Linked DNA regions of Homo sapiens: all the other regions are linked to region 4. Evidence: promoter capture Hi-C in 16 types of primary human blood cells and fetal thymus (Javierre and others, 2016). All regions are on one chromosome and are shown on one strand. The core of a region is centred on a gene start or on the middle of the fragment in contact, and the rest is flanking DNA. Distances in the headings are between cores, read along the strand shown.

What was found. The method cuts DNA at HindIII sites, captures the fragments that hold promoters and counts their contacts. A CHiCAGO score of 5 or more calls a contact.
Region 1: a fragment that was not itself captured here is called in contact with the fragment with the promoter of GPX8 in region 4 in 1 of 17 cell types (neutrophils); the score reaches 5.1 in neutrophils.
Region 2: a fragment that was not itself captured here is called in contact with the fragment with the promoter of GPX8 in region 4 in 7 of 17 cell types (total CD8 T cells, total CD4 T cells, activated CD4 T cells and 4 more); the score reaches 7.9 in total CD8 T cells.
Region 3: a fragment that was not itself captured here is called in contact with the fragment with the promoter of GPX8 in region 4 in 1 of 17 cell types (total CD8 T cells); the score reaches 5.3 in total CD8 T cells.

Annotation. Positions count from the first base shown.
Region 1 is chr5:54,423,742-54,426,568 of GRCh38, reverse strand. No RefSeq gene overlaps it. Among named protein-coding and RNA genes, the nearest start is that of HSPB3, 31 kb to the left of the region's middle. The HindIII fragment of the contact is 626 bases long and covers 944-1,569 here.
Region 2 is chr5:54,530,477-54,533,183 of GRCh38, reverse strand. All of the region lies in intron 1 of SNX18 (sorting nexin 18), which reads right to left. Among named protein-coding and RNA genes, the nearest start is that of SNX18, 14 kb to the right of the region's middle. The HindIII fragment of the contact is 2,407 bases long and covers 129-2,535 here.
Region 3 is chr5:54,495,834-54,498,728 of GRCh38, reverse strand. No RefSeq gene overlaps it. Among named protein-coding and RNA genes, the nearest start is that of SNX18, 20 kb to the left of the region's middle. The HindIII fragment of the contact is 3,542 bases long and covers 1-2,895 here.
Region 4 is chr5:55,158,886-55,161,585 of GRCh38, reverse strand. GPX8 (glutathione peroxidase 8 (putative)) reads right to left here and starts at 1,415. Exons shown (of 3, transcript NM_001008397.4): 1 at 1,190-1,415; 2 at 331-592. The coding sequence starts at 1,393. All of the region lies in intron 2 of CDC20B (cell division cycle 20B), which reads left to right. The HindIII fragment of the contact is 5,226 bases long and covers 228-2,700 here.

The sequences.
Region 1 (2,827 bases), core at 7-2,506, 730 kb after region 4:
TGCTTTGTACCCCAGAGTCTCAACAGCTCTTTCAACCACTGCCTAACACCCCTAAATCCAGAAATCAGACCTAGTTTCTGAGGTTGAGCCAGAAAAAAGGGAAATGAAGAAGGTAGTGGTCTTACCACCGTCTTTCCCCTCCAGAGAAATTTCTTCTTTCCCTTTCTTCATGCAAATCACCTATATAATTTGAAGCTATGGGACCAGCAATAACACAACCAGAAGCATAGTGAAGCACAGTGGAGGAATTATACCCCTGCCCACATGGTTCAAAAACAATTTCTTCTCAATGGAAAGAAAAGTCAATTTTTTCTTTTTTTTTCTTTCTTTTCTTTTTTTTTTTTTTGAGATGGAGTCTAGCTCTGTTGGCCAGGCTGGAGTGCAGTGGCATGACCTCAGCTTGCTGCAACCTCTACCTCTCGGGTTCAAGCCATTCTCCCATTCCCCTGCCTCAGCTTCCTGAGTAGCTGGGATTACAGGTGTGTTCCACCATGTCCAGCTAATTTTTGTATTTTTAGTATAGACGGGGTTTCACCATGTTGGCCAGGCTGGTCTCGAACTCCTGACCTCAAGTGATCCACCCACCTTGGACTCCCAAAGTGCTGGTATTACAGACGTGAACCACCGTGTCTGGTCCCCAATATTTTTTGCTTTTGAGGACTCAAAGAGGCTGTTTCCAATAGTTTTTGGAGAAAGGGTGGTTTTTTTGTGGGCATGTCAGCCTGATTTTTCTGTTGATGCCATCCTGCTGCAGGCTGTTGATTCAGAACATTGGATATTCTGTGGCTGATGAGCCAAGTGCCCACTGTGAAGGAGATGATAAACTCATATACAGTGACAGCAACTCAGGATTCTCTTATCAATTCCCTTCCTATCATATAAACCAAGAGAAGTGGCCTATGGGAAAAGTGAGCAGGAAAAACACAATTTAATTTTCAAAGCTTCAAAAGATTAACATGCTACATATTTTTAAAATCCACAACATTAGAAAAAGATATCTGCTTATGCTTCTTGGAAAGAAAGTAGTAACTAAGGTTGACAGTGCCCAGCCTAGAAGTCAGCTGCAGGCAATTCTCTCAAACGCTGACTGGTTTTTGCTTCTCTCTGGGCAAGGGAGCACCAGAGGCTGGCGATACATAGCAGCTTATAAGAAAGGGGAGGCTTTGTGTTAGCCCATCCAATACATGGGCATGGATAGAAAATACCTGGGAAGAAAAGCATGGTGGAAAAGAAATAGATACTAATAGCCCATTAAATCCTTTCTAGTGGTATCTGAAGTGAGTGGAGGCCAAAAAGAGAAACATGACATAAGGGGAAGCCCCTTTGCTGGGGCTCTCAGAAGGCACCAGGCTTCCTAGGATTCTCAGGAAGAGAAGCTCATTAACAGTGTCAGATATCCCAGCTGTAACTTCTAGACATGAGCATCCTCCAACACTGAAGGGTTAAAGGTAAGCAGCCCAATCACTTGTTATCCTGCAATTTCTGTAAACAAAAGCTGATTTTTCTAAAACTTAATGCTAATTTCTACCAAGAAGACAGGAAATATAGCTGACCTCCAAATCTGAAGCTTACCACCTTGCCGTTTCTTATTATGTCTTGTATTATGGCTTCCTATTTCTTTTACACTTCAGTTGGAACTCTGTAAGAGAATGATGTCTTCCGAGTGGCTAAAAATAATTTTGTAGTAATAATAACAGTAGCTAGCTTCTAAGTGCTTAATGTGTTGCTGGCCATATATGAAACTCTTCATTTGCTGCTCTTAGGCTTTACGACGACCTTTTCCAGAATAGAAAATGGAGGCACAGAAAGTTTAAATAGCTTGCTTGCAGGGAGGAAACGTGCAGGGATGGGAACAGTGAAGCCCTACAGTCCATGCTCCTAACCACTGGGCTACACTGTGAAGTGGCTATTTACCCCCAATCTCCAACTACTCCATATAAGATTAGAGAACTCAGCCAGGTGCACTGGCTCATACCTGTAATCCCAGCATTTTGGGAGGCCAAGGCGGGTGGGTCACTTGAGGTCAGGAGTTTGAGACCAGTCTGGCTAACATGGCAAAATCTCGTCTCTACTTAAAATACAAAAATTAGCGGGGTGTGGTGGTGGGCACCTGTAATCCCAGCTACTCAGGAGGCTGAGGTTGGAGAATGGCTTGAACCCGGGAGGTGAAGGTTGCAGTGAGCCAAGGTCATGCCACTGCACTCCAGCCTGGGTGACAGAGCAAGACTCCATCTAAAAAAAAAAAAAAAAAAAAAGATTAAAGGACTATGCCTGGAAGTGCCATGAAAATGGAGGAAAATGCCAGGCGGTTGGCACAGGCATTTCGTGAAAACTTCTAGAAATAAAATAAGGGGGAATGTATGTTTAAAATACACACACAAAACCAATTTTCAGATGGTAAGAGGTGGTTTGAAATAATCAGTTCTGAGTGTGTATTTTAAACTCATATTCCACCCCTGCCACCCATTTTATTTCCAGAAGTTCCCATGAAACGTGTGTGCCAACTGCACTATCACGGTACTTCTAGGCATAGTCCCCTACTCTTACATGGGGTGGGTGGGGACGTGGAGGTGCAAACAGTGAATCAGGAAAAGCAAAACCTACTGGAGCAAATGCCATCTAGAACTAGTTACTTCCATTTTAGATACATTTGAATGTCATTTCATTTTTTTGTCTTGAACAAAATATATTTATTACCTTATAGTCTAGGATGCAATATGGTCCATTAACCAAGTAATTAAAACCAGTTGTGATGAGTTAAGTAAAGGGGACTCACAAAAAAGCAGATGAAAATGCTTAAGACTGTGATATGGCCAGAAGTGAGCTG
Region 2 (2,707 bases), core at 83-2,582, 630 kb after region 4:
AAGAGAACTTTTGAACCATTTTGAAAAGGAGGGAAGAGGATCAAGACAAGCATAGTCAACTGCAAAAAGAAAAAAACCTGGTCACTTGATGGAAAAAAAATCACTTAAAGAATTCAGGCCTCTAAGCTTGATTTCATCCTGAAAATATCATTAGTCTGTTTCAGGTAAAAGCATTGTTATAATATTCTAATTAAGTAGTTCTTATAGCTTCATTCAGCAATCACCTAATGTCTAAAGGCAGAATGACATTCAGTTTGAATACAAATATTCACTTGCGTATAAATACCTTAAAAGATGATTATTTTAGTTACTATGCATATATAGTCATACAGTTTACCTCATTCCAAAAATGAAGAGAGAAATCACATGATTGTACCTCTTGTGGTTTATTTGGTAAAACTGTTTCTTGCTGGTAATTTTATATACATAAAGGTTCTTGTGTTCCAGCCCATAATGAATATTAAACGTGATAAAATTACTAGGGTGATAGTTTCAGGAGAATTCTGAAAACACAGTGTCTTTATTTGAGAAGTGTTTTTGGGTATGGTGGCAATGTTGATTTGCCTGTAGCCAAGCAAATATAGATGAAGACTTTAAAATTTGAGAGTAAGAAAGAAAACCATGTATTGTTTCTTTTCTTAAAGATCTGATACCCACAGAATCTTAATAAAATAAGGTAGACATACTATCCTTGATAATGCTGACCATACAATGAAACTTTTAAAAAACTAACTTTGTAAAAGTAAAACCCATATAATGGTTCAAATTCAGAGAACACAAATAGGGGCCTCAGGTCTGCAGTGCCCAGTTCTTTAATTACCTGAGGCATGTGCACGCATACTGGTCTCTACAAAAAAAAAAAAAGAAAAAAAAAAAGCAACAATAGATATGTTTGCAAGCTGCCAACACTTTCGACACGTGACATACAACAAGCATATCTGTACCAAAGAGTGAACTTGGGAAAGTACCTTTAATGAAAGGTAAAACCTTATTTTCTTTTTTTCTAGAAAGATAAAGGGAGACCCAAGCCAAAATAAATCTAAATAGAAGCTGCTAAAATAAATCTAAACAGAAGTCCCTCTAGATGGGGCCAGGAAGAGAGTAAAGTGGCCCCTGCTCTTTACGAGAGAAGCCAAGGCAAGGCAAGATAGAGCACACACGCAGAGCCAGGGCACTTATGGGACCCTATCTGAGTGCACTGTGGTTCATGCTGGAGTTAGCAGAATATCTGCAAATAATGCATTTCTCGTTTTCAAGTAATTTTCCAGTTTTTGTCTGAAATTGTAAACTCCATTGTCCCAATTGCCATGTATGCCACGGTGGTACCGACTGGTGAGCAGCACAAGCACTCTTCGTTATCCTGAGTGCTGCTTCACATCCCTTCACGATCACGAGGCTGTGGAGATAATTCCTAACTCAGCTGTTTTAAATGTAAGGACACGCCTCACTCCTGTGGTTTTCCCGCTGCCTCGCACTGGCAGGGCCCAGGTGTCCGGTGGCTGTGAGTCTTTACTCTGACCACATCCGGACATCCTTGTATGAAATCATAAATAACCAACTAAAGACAGAACAAAGCATCTAAAATTGTATCAAGTTTTAAAATATATGTGAAATACAAATCATAAAACGTGAAAATTTACAGATTATCCACACTAACATCTATCAGCATTTAGTTAAAAATGTCTTGCTGTAGACAACACGTGGCTTTGGTGAAAATCGCAAATGTCAACATAACTAAACACAATAAAAACACAATAAAAGAAAAAGGATTTTCTAAGACTCCCTTCAGCCCCATTCCTTGTCTTTCCTTTTAGTCCTGCTCCTCTTCTCAGTCTGCCTACCTCTTCTATCACTGGCTTCACTACTTTCTACCACCCAAACTTAAAACCTCTAAGGTAACACTAGATTCCTCAGGAGAGCCAGCGCCTCACCAGGTCCTGCCATGATACCTGGCAGGTGTCTCGAGTTCACCTGTTCCTTTCCAAAGCCAACTCTTCCCCTGGAGTACTCTAAGAGCCTCCTCATCTCTGCCCAACCAACAGGAGTAACTTCCAAAAGCCCTGCCTCAGGGAGCCAGGGTGCACCAGTGAAGGATGCTTCCAGGAACTCGCAGTTTAAATTTCTGTGGTTTGGATGGGCAGGGTGACTCACACCTGTAATTCCAGCACTTTGGGAGGCCGAGACGGGTAGATCACCTGAGGTCAGGAGTTTGAGACAAGCCTGGCCAACATGATGAAACCTCGTCTCTACTAAAAATACAAAAAATTAGCTGGGTGTGGTGGCGGGCACCTATAATCCCAGCTACTCAGGAGGCCGAGGCAGGAGAATCGCTTGAACCCAGGAGGTGGAGGTTATGGTGAGCCGAGATCACGCCACTGCACTCCAGCCTGGGCAACAAGGGCGAAACTGTCTCAAAAAAAAAAAAAAAAAAAAAAAAAATTTCTGTGGTTCAGCTCCTGTCTGCAAAATGGGTATAAGAAGAGTATTTACCTCAGCTTTTTTGAGGTAAATACTTTTTTAAGCTCCTCTGAAGCTTAAATAGATATAATGAATATAAAACACAAAGCACCATGCCTGGCACTCAGGAAGTCTTCAAAACATGATAGCTATTTTGATTATGATTAAACGTCACTCTTTGGTTTGAAACCTTTAGTGGCTGCTGACTGCCTGTAGAATAAGTCAATTTTCTAACAAGCATGTTATATAT
Region 3 (2,895 bases), core at 221-2,720, 660 kb after region 4:
CAAATCAAAGAAGGGAGACATGTTGGGAGCAAGCCCCCCCAAAACTGGCCATAAACAAAATCTCTGCAGCACTGTAACAAGTTAATAATGGCCTTAATGCCCAAGCTGGAAGGTTGTGGGTTTACTGGAATGAGGGCAAGGAACACCTGGCCCACCCAGGGCGGAAAACAACTTAAAGGCATTCTTAAACCACAAACAATAGCATGAGCGATCTGTGTCTTAAGGGCATGTTCCTGCTGCAGTTAACTAGCCCAACCTATTCCTTTAATTCGGCCCATTCCTTCCTTTCCCATAAGGGATACTTTTAGTTAATCGAATATTTATAGAAACAATGCTAATGACTGGTTTGCTGTTAATAAATATGTGGGTAAATCTCTGTTTGGGGCTGTCAGCTCTGAAGGCTATGAGATCCCTGATTTCCCACTTCACACCTCTATATTTCTGTGTGTGTGTCTTTAATTCCTCTAGCGCTGCTGAGTTAGGGTCTCCCCGACCGAGCTGGTCTCAGCAGGTCTGTTTTGGGAAAGGGCTGTTATTGTCTTTGTTTTAAATTATAAACTAAGTTTCTCCTGATGTTAGTTTGGCCTACACCCACGAATAAACAAGGACAGCTTGGAGGTTAGAAGCAAGATGGAGTTAGTTAGGTCAGATCTCTTTTACTGTCTCAGTTATAATTTTGCAACAGCAGTTTCAGTATGACAAGATGACCAGGAAAAGCACCATAAACAAAGGTAAGTTCTGCTATGCAGATTTAAGTCAATGCCTTCTCCATTGATTAAGAGTCTAGTGATCTAGTGTCCTCCTCTTCCTGGTGTAGACAGGGACACAGTCTCACAAATGGAGATTTCTTTGATAGATGTAAATTTCTCTCACACAGGATAACTTTTCAGAGCCTCTACTGTGTCTACAATTTCTCAAAATAACAGCTCAAAATAATCCTTATGTTAAAGAGACATATTTTGGCCTGGCATATTCTGGTCTCCTAAAGTCATATTTTGGCGTGACTTGTCCTGGACCCAATTAATAGAGTGTTCTCATTTTTTATAGCAACATAATATCCCATTATGTGGACATACTGAGGGAGCACAGGGAATTTCACCCCAAAATATGGCTCACTGCAGCCTGAACTCCTGGGCCCAAGCAGTTCTCCTGTTACAGCAGGCAGATACCTAGACATGAGCAGGAGGGGGAGCCTGAAGAAAGGGAGGTCTGGAAAATCTCACACCTCAGAGACCACTGGAAATCTGCATGCTAGATATGAGCATAAAGGAGGGAAAATACCTGTGCACGAAGAAACACCTCAGAACAACTCTTAAGATGCCCAGTAATCACTCACGCTGCAGCTAATCGGTCAGAATGGAGCTAGCCACATGCTGATAAGGAGGGGATGGCTGGGCACAGTGGATCACGCCTGTAATCCCAGAACTTTGGGAGGCCGAGGTGGGTGGATCACCTGAGTTCAGGAGTTCAAGACCAGCCTGGCCAACATGGTGAAACCCTGTCTCTACTAAAAATGCAAAAATTAGCTGGGCATGGTGGCAAGTGCCTGTAATTCCAGCTACTCAGGAGGTTGAGGCAGGTCAATGGCTTGAGCCTGGGAGGCAGAGGTTGCAGTGAGCCGAGATCATGCCACTGCACTCCAGCCTGCACAATTGAGACTCTGTCTCAAAAAAAAAAAAAAGGGCAAAGGGGAAATTTCTAAGAGTCTGAGAGATATGCAGGGGTAATATGTACACATATAACTGCTATATGACCTTCCTAGAGGGCAACGCTAGAGGGTAATAAGCAAAGCTGCCATTAGGATTGTACCCAACACCAGTCCTTGCATGTGCCTTAACTACCAGTAAAGGAGAATCCCATAAACCTAGAGCAGGAACTAGGCAGGAAAAAAGCAGGGACTTAATGCAGAAGGGGGAAGCTAGATAAAGATAGAGGTGGAGACTTGAGACAGAGGTGGGAACTTAAAGAAACAGTCCCAACATAACAAAAATCTCAATGCAGAACCCTAGGGGCTGCTGGCTCATTCTCTTTCCAGCAGCCCACTCTGACTTTTCTTTCAGAGCATACTATCTCTTTAAACAGACTGCTACTACTACTGCTCCCAGCAGGGTCAGCCCACTCCTCTCTTGGAGCATATTCTTATTTCCTTAATATGTCTTTGTTTACTTTACTAATTGGTCTCTTGGCCAAATTTCTTCTCCCAAGAAGACTAAGAACAGAGGACTCCACACATCCTGGTAACACTCCCACCTCAGCCTCCCAGCTGGCTTGGACTACAGGTGTGCACCACCATGCCTGGCTAATTAAAAAAAAAAAAAAAAATTGTGGCCAGGCATGGTGGCTCACACCTGTAATCCCAGCACTCTGGGAGGCCGAGGCAGGTGGATCACATGAGGTCAGGAGTTCGAGACCACCCTGGCTAACATGGTAAAACACCGTCTCTACTAAAAATACAAAAATTAGCTGGGCGTGGTGGCGCATGCCTGTAATCCTAGCTGCTTGGGAGGTTGAGGCAGGAGAATCGCTTGAACCCAGGAGGTGACGGTTGCAGTAAGCTGAGATCTCACCACTGCACTCCAGTCTGGGAAACAGAGCGAGACATTGTCTCAAAAAAAAAAAAATTTTGTGTAGAGATGGGGGTCATGCCATGTTGCCAGGCTGGTCTCCAGTTGATCTTCCTGCCTCAGCATTCCAGAGTGCTGGGATTACAGGCATGAGCCACCATGTCCCATGCTGATCAAAATTTTTAAATGAGTTGGAATTAGTCAAAAACAGGATTGGTATTCCAGGTAGGAAGAGCATCAAAGACACAAAAAATGTTAAATGCCATGGTGGATATTAGGAAATACAAGAAATAAGTAATATTACAGTGTAAAACAACACAAGGTGAGATGT
Region 4 (2,700 bases), core at 166-2,665:
TTTCTCCAGATGCTAGTTACAAGAGAGGAGAATTAAGATATTTTGTGAAAATAGCCATGGGCACACTTTAAGTAAATTCTTCAGGAAGATGGTAATAAGGAATAAAATATATTGGAATAGAATTCTTTTACCATCTAAGAAGCTAAAACATTGATTTCAGGGGAGCATAACTCCTAGAAGTTACAAAGGATGAGATTCTGGCTCTTTGATGATAGTTTTATGAAGCTTTCCCGATACAACGTTTCAAATGAAATAGGAAAGTATTGTCCTGGTATAATTGTTTAAAAATGAAAAGCAATTTAAAACAGCATATGCAAGGCAGATATTTACCAACAAGAAATCTAAATGCAGGTTCTCCTTCAGATCCTAGAATCTTAATCTTGTGGAAGATGGGGAAAGTTACTCCGTAGTTTTTTCTTGCAAAAGATTCTACTTCCTTGCTTGGGCGGGGCTCCGATTCTCCAAACTGATTGCAGGGAAAAGCCAACACGCTGAAGTGGGATGGTCCAAACTCTTTGTGCAGTTCCTTCAGCCCTAAGTAATTTCTGTCTGTGAGTTGGCAGTCACTGGCCACGTTTACAACTAGTGAAACCTCCCGGAAAAAGAAAAAAATCCAACCGGAAAGTGAAGCAAAAGATTTTAAAAAATTCTGCAAGTAGTTAAAATCCTAAACAATTTGGGGGGGACTATAACCTCTGATTGATGTTTTTTTCATATTTTTGGACATACACAGTTCTATTGAAAACTGTAACCTAGATGCCTGGGTTAAGGCCCTGAAATAGTACTGCCATTAAAAAAGCATTAGATACTCATGAAAGTTTATTTTTAAATTAAAGATAAAACTATGATCCTTGATAAGTTCTTTTTAAAGTTATTAGATTATAGAACCAATACTTTTATTAATAAATGTCATCATGTTCACATTACTAACTATAAGTATTTTCCAAACAACTTTACATGTCAATTCAGCACAAAATTAAAGCATTTTAAAGAAAACGAGATAATCGGAATTTATTATTTAGAAGCAAACTATCAGAACTGTAATAACTAAAGTGATGTACTAATACCATTACTCTGAAGACTAAATTCCAACTTATGACCATGTAACAGCAAAAAATTGATTTTATTAAGAGGAATAAACAGAGACAAGGAAAAATGATAACAATAAAAATCAGATGATGCAACTTACTTTGCCTTTATACTTTTCCAGAGAAACAGTTCTTCCTTTTGCATCCTTCACTTCAAAGGCATAAAAGCTGTTGATTTTAGGTTTGAGGAATTTTAGTTGTAGAAGAAATAGCGTTACTGTGCATAGAACTATAGACAGCAAAACTGCAAATACCTTTGCTCTGGGCCCGGAACATTTTAGCGGGTAAGCTGCAAGAGGCTCCATGTTGGAGGATTCTAGAGGGAAGTCTCAGCAGCCTGGAATTCAAGGAGGAGCTGAAACTTGAAACCGGCTTAGTTTAACGGAAAACCAGGAAGGACAGGCTGACTGCTTTCACTGCTAAGGAACAGAAAGACCACTTCTCAGAGGGGAAATGAAGCGAAACTCCTGAATGAAGCAAGGAGCTCTACAGAATTTCAAAGTATTTGTGATGTAATTATAATTTTTGCTAGAAAAATCAGGACATTTTTGGTAGGTCTTTGACATTCTCCCTACAAAGAAAATATTTCGCCAGAAGATGGTGCTCTTGTAACTCGAAAGCTACGGAGGGCTCATTCCCCATGCTAAGCTGTGTATTTATTGAGCAACTGTTTGGATGCAGAGGATGGAGTACGATGCTCAGCAATAGTTTAGAATGTAGATTAAATGTGACCTACTCATATGGTGTATACCCTGAAGGACGTTACTATTACATGTATGGGTTAAACATGCTATATGAGTTCAGGAAATTTATAGTGGAAAGAGCAGGGAAATATCTGAAAAAGGCTATTTACCCTGATTCATCTAGCTAAGGCAATCAAATACCAAGTGAATACAGTCAAAATAAATATGTTAAAAACAGTGAAGGTGTTAAAAGAAACCCTTCTCTATCATAGAGCAAACTATAGTCCAGTGTTTTTCAAATTTCTACTCATGACCCCCAGTCAGCAGTGCACTTTACAACATAACTGGGTACAAACAACACACAACTGAGAAACAACACTTCTCCTTTGAACTGTGATGCACCCCCACCTGTTGCATTTTTAAACAACCCAGTTCTGACCTATCAAAATGATTTCATCATTCACCGATGCACTACAACCTGTAGATGGAAAAAACTGAGGCCGGGCATGGTGGCTCACGCCTGTAATCCCAGCACTTTGGGAGGCCTAGATGGGAGGATCACTTGAGCCCATGAGTTCAAGACCAACTTGGGCAAGAAAGCGATACCCCTGTCTCTAAAAAAGAATTTTAATTAGCTGGTTGTGGTGGTGCATGGCTGTGGTCCCAGTTATACAGGTGGCAAAGGTGGGAGGATCGCTTGATCCCAGGAGGTTGAGGCTGCAGTGAGTCGTGTTTGTAGACTGCAGCCTGGGTGACAGAGTGAGACTATCTTAAAATCAGAACAAAAGAAGAAGAGGGAAAAAAGCAAAAATTGAACTCGATAATAAAGTAGTAATTTAACAGTTAAATAAGGCAATTCTACCAAAAAAAATCCCTGAAAACAAACAAACCCTGCAAAACCCACCTCTACTTGGGCACGTCATCTAATT